Regions from separate parts of the Homo sapiens genome. Here region 1 is linked to region 2. Evidence: promoter capture Hi-C in 16 types of primary human blood cells and fetal thymus (Javierre and others, 2016). All regions are on one chromosome and are shown on one strand. Each heading gives the region's core, a stretch centred on a gene start or on the middle of the fragment in contact. The rest is flanking DNA. Distances are from core to core; before and after follow the strand shown. Region 1 holds the start of VCAN-AS1 (VCAN antisense RNA 1). Region 2 holds the start of RPS23 (ribosomal protein S23).

What was found. Contacts are between HindIII fragments. The CHiCAGO score rates a contact against its expected background, and 5 or more counts as called.
Region 1: a fragment that was not itself captured here is called in contact with the fragment with the promoter of RPS23 in region 2 in 2 of 17 cell types (fetal thymus and M0 macrophages); the score reaches 9.3 in fetal thymus.

The regions. Positions count from the first base shown.
Region 1 is chr5:83,560,774-83,564,610 of GRCh38, reverse strand. All of the region lies in intron 12 of VCAN (versican), which reads right to left. It overlaps VCAN-AS1 (VCAN antisense RNA 1), which reads left to right and starts at 2,297. Exons shown (of 3, transcript NR_136215.1): 1 at 2,297-2,580. It overlaps LOC124901021 (a long non-coding RNA gene), which reads right to left and starts at 2,396. Exons shown (of 2, transcript XR_007058847.1): 1 at 1,179-2,396. The HindIII fragment of the contact is 826 bases long and covers 1,862-2,687 here.
Region 2 is chr5:82,276,710-82,280,384 of GRCh38, reverse strand. It overlaps RPS23 (ribosomal protein S23), which reads left to right and starts at 2,031. Exons shown (of 4, transcript NM_001025.5): 1 at 2,031-2,065; 2 at 2,533-2,692. The coding sequence starts at 2,062. It also overlaps the pseudogene ATP6AP1L. RefSeq lists an enhancer at 1,711-2,040. The HindIII fragment of the contact is 8,285 bases long and covers 1,530-3,675 here.

The DNA.
Region 1 (3,837 bases), core at 1,025-3,524, 1.3 Mb before region 2:
GCGTTCTACTATTGTGTATAAAGTGAAAACACAGGACAGATAGGTCCTAATATTTGCCTTAGTTGCTAGGATTTTACTAAGTATTTGACTACATGTGTTAGCTTCATGCTGCATTTGAAAAATCCTCTCATTTCACATTTAACTTTCAGGATCACAGTATCATGCAATTTATACTAGAATTAAGAAACTATTCAAAACTACAGGAACTTGATTTACAGATAGTATTATTCTTGTGTGTATCTGGGTGTAGTTCTGTGAATGTGGTTTTGAAACACAAAATACAATACGACCACTAGGTGGTGATATATATCCATTCTTACATTATGAATTAACGGCTACACCACTTAACAAAAGAGAACTTGGAATATGTCCCCCAAAATCGTAATTATGTACTCCATGTGGCAAAAATAAAAAAATAAAAATAAAAAATAAAAGATTGTCTGGGATATGTTCTCTCAGTTTTGTGAGTGAAAACACAAAGAGAACACTTTGCAAGAAGACAGACCTCGGTGAACCAGTATTTACCAACCTGACTGCATTCTATTCTGTTGCAAGCCATTCTATCCATAATCTGAATTTTCTTTCTGTCTAAAATGTTCACCTACGGTAGTTTCTTCTTTTCCACTCTGTCTTTTAAAATTATCCGATGATTTACATCAATGGTGAAATTGCATCAGAACCAAAGCCAAATGTGCAACATCCACCTAAAATCCTTAGGAGAGGTCAGATCATAGATAAACACCTAAGCACACAAATGCAATGTCTGCAGCGTGAGTCACAGTTAGTTTGTTTTTCCGTAAAAATTTATCTAGATTAGCTATGAAAACATGACACCTGCAGTAAGAGCTGACTTCTTTGTGCGCAAACTCTTTTCATCACCTGGGGCCCATATTGCCACTGCTGTACTCCCAGAGCTACAAAATTCAATCCAAACGCACTGGATACCAAGGGCAAGCAGATAACCACCGAAGTAGGAAAGCAAATTCCAAACAGAAAACACTTTCCCAAGAGGACAGGTACCTGTTTGAAACATATGCCGATAAGAAACCATCTTTTCACTAAATAACAAACAGAATAACCACTTGGGGTTAGCCTCAGCCTTTCAGAACACAGGTCAAATGGTTATCTGAAAAGAGGCTATGAGGACTACTTATTACAGAAATCAAAACATTTGGTACCTTTAAAATGACTTTTTTATCCCTAGATGGCTGGTGTACACAATAGGCATTTGTTTGCAGTCTGGAGGGGGAGTGGTGCATTTAACTTTGTCTTGTTTGTTAGGGGCAAATGACTTCCCTGCAAGGTAAAGATAAACCTTCTTCTGATCCTTGTACTTGCTTAAGGTTAGTCTAGTCTGGGTCCTTCTTTATTTATGTTTTAAGGGAGGTTATGGTTTTGCTGCTGTCTTTTAGTTGAACAGGGTAATTCGTTGACCGACAACTGAAAAGAAAAGAGCAGCTTTGTTTTAAAGGAGAAAGAGACGTTTGTTTTGGTGTCACTACCCTATGCTGGCAGCCTGGAGTTGGATCCTACAAACATGAATATGCTGAAGGGAAGAAAAACTAACTTGGGGTCTCCTGATAGTTGTTAAAGTGGCAATATGCCCATTATTTTCCTAGCTGGCAAACCTCTGTGCGGGAAAGACAATCTGGCCAGCTCTTGAGAACAGCACTAATCTTGTGTAATAGTGTGAGCTCACTGCCCTACAAAGCAGCAATTATCAACAGCATTTTCAGAAGGATGTGAGTTACTCGCACTGTGAGACCACTGTGAGAGAGGGGGCCTCAGGCAGAGGCCCAGAGAGCAACTTGCATTTAATCCATAGAATGAATGGTGCCAGTAGGCTCCTTTACCCCAAGCTTATTTGCACAGGTCTCCAGTCATGAAGGGCTGACGATCCAAATGTAAGGAGAGACTGCCAAAGCTCATTCAATATATTTTTTTTTTTTGGCCTTTTCCATGGTTATGCATTGCCTTAAACTAATTAGCAATTAGATTTAAATATCTGCATGAGATTTTAAAGTTGCACAGAAGACTGTTGGAAAAGCATCTGTGAGATGCTACTGCACTAAATCTCCTTTTCTTATTCTTTATAATAATCTTGTCAATTATAAAATGATTTTCCAGTAGTGAGTAAATATGGTTCTTCCAGCTGTTCAACCCACCACTAGCTATCTGAACTGAAAGACAAGGCAGAGAGCAGAGTTGCGTTCTAGAACTACTCTATGACTCATAATATCTCACATTTAGAATCAGAAGAATCAGTTCTTGATTCCAAATCAAATTAAACTACAACACAAGTCAAAATTTTCATTAAGAACTCAGTAGTCTTTCACAGAAGGGAATCTGAGAATTCTTCCACTCATGAGTAATGTGTTAAAGAATGAGAAAAGAGCATGTTTTCCTTGGCTTTTGGATTAATACAATAAAGCCTGTGAAGTTTAACATAATTAAATTAATGTTGATATGCAGTGTGACTTGTTCACAGAGAAATGGTATTTGACTTAGAGCTAATGCCACATCACAGCTGACATACATCCATCTGCAAATGTTGTATAGAAAGTCTTCTAAGATCTTCAGGTAGGAAAAGGAAAACTTAAATTTTTGTTGTGGGGATTGTGTTTTGCATTGTTTTTCTGTCAAATCATGTGAAATCCTTTCAAATGAGCAGAAATCTACAACAAGCTTAGAAAGCACTGGAATTAATGAATACTCCGTATTCTCTTTTCAATGTCCAAGACATCTGGGAGAGGAAGGGGAATAAGAACCTTTGTGTTTATGAAAGGGTAATAATGATACATTGCTGCAGAAAAACAATAATGGTTTATGGTCCGTGATTTGTTACTCCATTTTTTCTGCCCCTTTTAAGTGTCTCTTCCTGGGTAAGGGCTATTTCTTTATTGTTTCTACCTTTTTCAAAGCTGGCTTTTCTCACAATACTTTGCTTGACAGACTGATGTGTTTATTTATGAAAGAAGAAGAAGGAGCCTCTGGATTTAAAGTCAAATCCACACATCTGGACATTCTTGTGCATCAACTCGAATCAACTGGTGAAGGGGGACAAGTGGGTGTTGGAAATTGTAGGTATTAAGTTGCCAAAGCTGAACTATGCTTACCAAAATGAAAAACAAAATGCAAAATTGAGTTATCTTCCAGAAATATTTTTAAGAAGAATTTAAGTAATGAAGGTTAATTGTACAATTAATTGTACTAATTGTCCTATCAATTAGTTTTTTTTTTAGTTTATATCACAACTATCATAGCAAGATGAGTTGGTTAGAGCTAGAAAATAAGATATTTATGAATCTGTGATTTAGTAACTTGTTCTAGAACTTCCTGACCAGATTTGGACAAATGTAGAAGAGAGAAAGTCTCTCTGTTTTCTCCCAACTGTAGAATGGAAAGTGAGAAGAAGGAAGCTGTGATAATTTCCCAGGAAGCAGGGAAGCCAGCAGCCTCACGGGGTGTGACATTTGAGTCCTGACAATGTAGAGATGACAGAAGTAAAAAAAGTGAAGGAGATGCAGAAAATGTTTTTTAAAATGTTTAGGAATAAAGTCAGGGCTTTTTCTGCAGAACAAACTAAATATTCCAAAAACTCCCCAATATTTTAAAAATGGAATGGCAATGTCAGTTTTATTCAGTCCTCGGCCTCTATACATGGCCATCTAAAGTGATGGTTCCCTTTGAAGTAAATGCGTCTGATCCACTGAAGACACCAGTGTCCAGTGGGGAAGGGTCAGCTTTGATGGTGCTGGGGGGAATCATTGAAGAAAGGAACAATGTGGAGCCCAGAGAATCGCCTCGTGAGAATCTTACTCCAGAGGGTCCAAGAGA
Region 2 (3,675 bases), core at 782-3,281:
CCACTCTTTCTTCATCTGTTTTGCTTCACCTGCCTTCTCTTCTGTACCACTAAACTTTGGTGTGCTCAGGACTCTAATCTCTGTTCTACCTACAGTCATCACCTAAGCTATCTCAACTAGAGCCACAGTTTTAATACTATTTATTCATTGATTACTCCTCAGCTTCTTATCATATATCCAACTGTCCACTTCACATCCCTGGATGTTTGACAGTTCAAACTTAACACATCCAAACCAGAACTCTTCATTTCCTCCTTTGAAATTTGCTCCTCTCCTCGTATTTCCCACTTTGGAACTCACCCAACTCACAACTCACAACTCTACAACTCACCCAAGTGCTGAGGTCAAAAATCATAGTGCTGTAATTAACTCCTCTCTCACATCCTACAGTCCTGAGCAAATTCTGTTCATTCTACCACCAAACAGTGTATCTGACCCAACCACTTTTTACTGTCTCCACTGAGGGTCCAAGCTATCACCATCTCTCATCTGAACTATTGCAATACCTTCCCAAGTGGCCTCCCAGATTCATGTCTTTTTCTCCTCTCAACAGCCAGAGTAACCCCATAAAAATATAAATCTTATTTTGCTACCTACTCCCAAGCTCAAAACTTTACAATGGCTTTAAATCACCAGAAGAGTAGAAAAAGGCTTTACCATGGCCTACAGGCTCCACATGTTCCTGTGTAACTCTCAGACCCCATCTAATGCCACACTACTCCTCAGTCACTATGCTCCCCTTCTTCACTGATCTTTCAGTTCTTAGAAAGCACTAGCCCATTCTACATCTGCACAGAGATGTCACCTTAAACTACCCTATCCAGAGTAGCCACCCCCATCCCCAAGTCACTATCACCCATCCAGCTATATTTTCTCTATAGCTCTACAGTATGTAAAAATCATCTATTTAATTATTTAATTTACATCTATCTAACTGGTCTGTCCTCTCACATTTAGAATATAAACTGTATCAGAGCAGAAACCTTCACCCTCTTAATTTAACCGCCATATTCCCGGTACCTACAACAGCGTCTGGCACATAGAAGGCATTTTTAAACATCCTTGCTGAGTGAACCAATATCCCAGAAACCTCTCACAGCTAGTTCATCTTACAGGAGAAACAGTATTAAAGAGTTAATTAAATGGCCAGGCGCGGTGGCTCACGCCTGTAATCCCAGCACATTGGGAGGCCGAGGCGGGCGGATCACTCGAGGTCAGGAGATCGACACCAGCCTGGCCAACATGGTGAAACCCCCTCTCTACTGAAAATACAAACATCAGCCAGGCGTGATGGTGGAAGCCTGTAATCCCAGCTACTCAGGAGGCTGAGGTGGGACAATCGCTTGAACCCGGGAGGCGGAGGTTGTAGTGAGCCAAGATCGCACCACTGCACAACAGCCTAGAAGACAGAGTGAGACCCTGTCTCAGAAAAAAATAAAAATAAAAATAAATAAATCTATAAGTAAATGACTCGCCAGTCAAAATAAACGGCAACTTTAGGGTTAAAGGCCCAATCTGGCTCCAAAGCTTGGGGTTTTAGTTACTACACTACATTGCTTCACTATATTTTACAATTTACTAGCTGCTTATAAGTATGAATTAAGGCTCAGAAGTCTAATTTTCCAGACTACTCGGAGGACTCTCGCCCCACTCCACTCCACAAAGATTCAGCTCAGCGACTCCTTCCTACTCTGACCTAGCCCCGCGTCCCGCTCTCAGTGGCTTGGGCAAGAGCGCCTGCGCGGTGAGCGGGTCCCATAAAACGCATTCTGGGATTGGTAGTCCATGTTCCTCCGGTCTCCAGCATTCAAAAGAAAAAGGGGGAAAAAAAACCATGCAAATTAGATATCTCTGAATTTCTTGCAAATTAAATAAGACGCAGATTCTGGCTCAGGAAAGTGATGCAAACGCGTCGTTTTCAAAGGAGAGACCCCAGCCTCGGGTCAGGCGCGGCGCAGACAGCGGCGCGGGGTCCTTGGCTGGGCGGGGCTTGCTCGCGGTGGCTTGTGGCTCCTTCCTGCGGTGCTTCTCTCTTTCGCTCAGGCCCGTGGCGCCGACAGGATGGGTGAGCTGTTGTGGCCGGTTTAAGGGCGCTGCAAGCGGGACTTGGGGTCTTGGGGACGGGCGGGCGGATGCGAATAGAGTAGGGCGGGGGATGCCATGGAGAGGCTCCATGGGGGAGGGCCGGGGAAGCGCCGCTCCAGGAGGCACGTGGTCCGGCGCGGAAGGGGCCCATGAGGCGTGGAGGCCGCCGAGGTCGGGGTACCGAGGGACGCAGGGAGGCCAGCGCTTCCTCCCGGGCATTCGAGCGGGGCCTCGTCCTTCGGGAGAACACATTCTCCGGAGCCCTCTTCGAACGTTTATTAGTCGGTTCAGGGCAACTTGAAGGCCAAATGTTTGGCCCACAGGCCAATAAATAGTACGAGAGCCAATCGGCTTAAGGGTTTATTCCAGGTGAGGCGAGTGTCTTAGAAGATGGGAAACACGTAGATGGCGTGTTTTTACGGAAGAACTAAAATATTTAATTTTTAGGCAAGTGTCGTGGACTTCGTACTGCTAGGAAGCTCCGTAGTCACCGACGAGACCAGAAGTGGCATGATAAACAGTATAAGAAAGCTCATTTGGGCACAGCCCTAAAGGCCAACCCTTTTGGAGGTGCTTCTCATGCAAAAGGAATCGTGCTGGAAAAAGTGTAAGTCCATTGCTCCCGTCAAGTTTTAGTTTATTATAGGAATTCGAGACATGAACTTACGAATTCTTGTTTTGAAAGTAATTGCAGGTTTTTGTGTAGTAGTATTCATTTGGGCATTGTGGGGTAAAATTGCAAAGCGTTTGTTCTATTTAAAAGTTGGTAAAATTAGTTTTTGGGAATTAGGTAGTTAAGGTTTTAATTTAACGTTGGCCTGGAAGGAATTGGAGAAGATACTAGCAATGATGAAGTAAAGGACACAAACACCTTTACTGTGGGAGTTGTTATAAGTAAATGGCACGTGTCAGCTATTGAACTTTATCGACTTGATAAAACTAAGGTGAAGAGAAGTGACTTGCATCAGAATTAATTGAGGTCATACACCTAAGATTGAGACATGAAACTGCCAGTATTTGACTGGTTTTGACTTTTTAAAATAATAATTTCATATAGTTCTATCATATTTGATGGTAGAGCCATTTTAACCCAGACTTTTTTTTTTTTTTTTTTTTTTTTTGAGACAGTCTAGCTCTGTCACCCAGGCTGGTGTGCAGTAGCGCAAGACTCCCTGCAACCTTAGCCTCCCAGGTTCAAGCATTTCTCCTGCCTCAGCCTCCCAGGTAGCTGGGATTACAGGCGCCCACTACCACACCAGCTAATATTTTGTATTTTCAGTAGTGATGGGGTTTCACCATGTTGACCAGGCTAGTCTCAAACTCCTGACCTCAGGTGATAATGCCTGCTTCGGCCTCCGAAAGTGCTGGAATTACAGGCGTGAGCCACTGTGTCCGGCCCAGACTTTCTAATTCTTACCTCAGATACCTTTTTTCTTTTTTCTTTTTTTTTTTTTGAGATAGGGTCCCTTGTCACACAGGCTGGCCATCTTGACGTTCTAGGCATAGATCCTCCCACGTCAGCCTCGCAAGTAGTTGGGACTACAGGCCCACGCTGCCACTCCAGTCTACTTTTATAACTGTAAAAGGTCT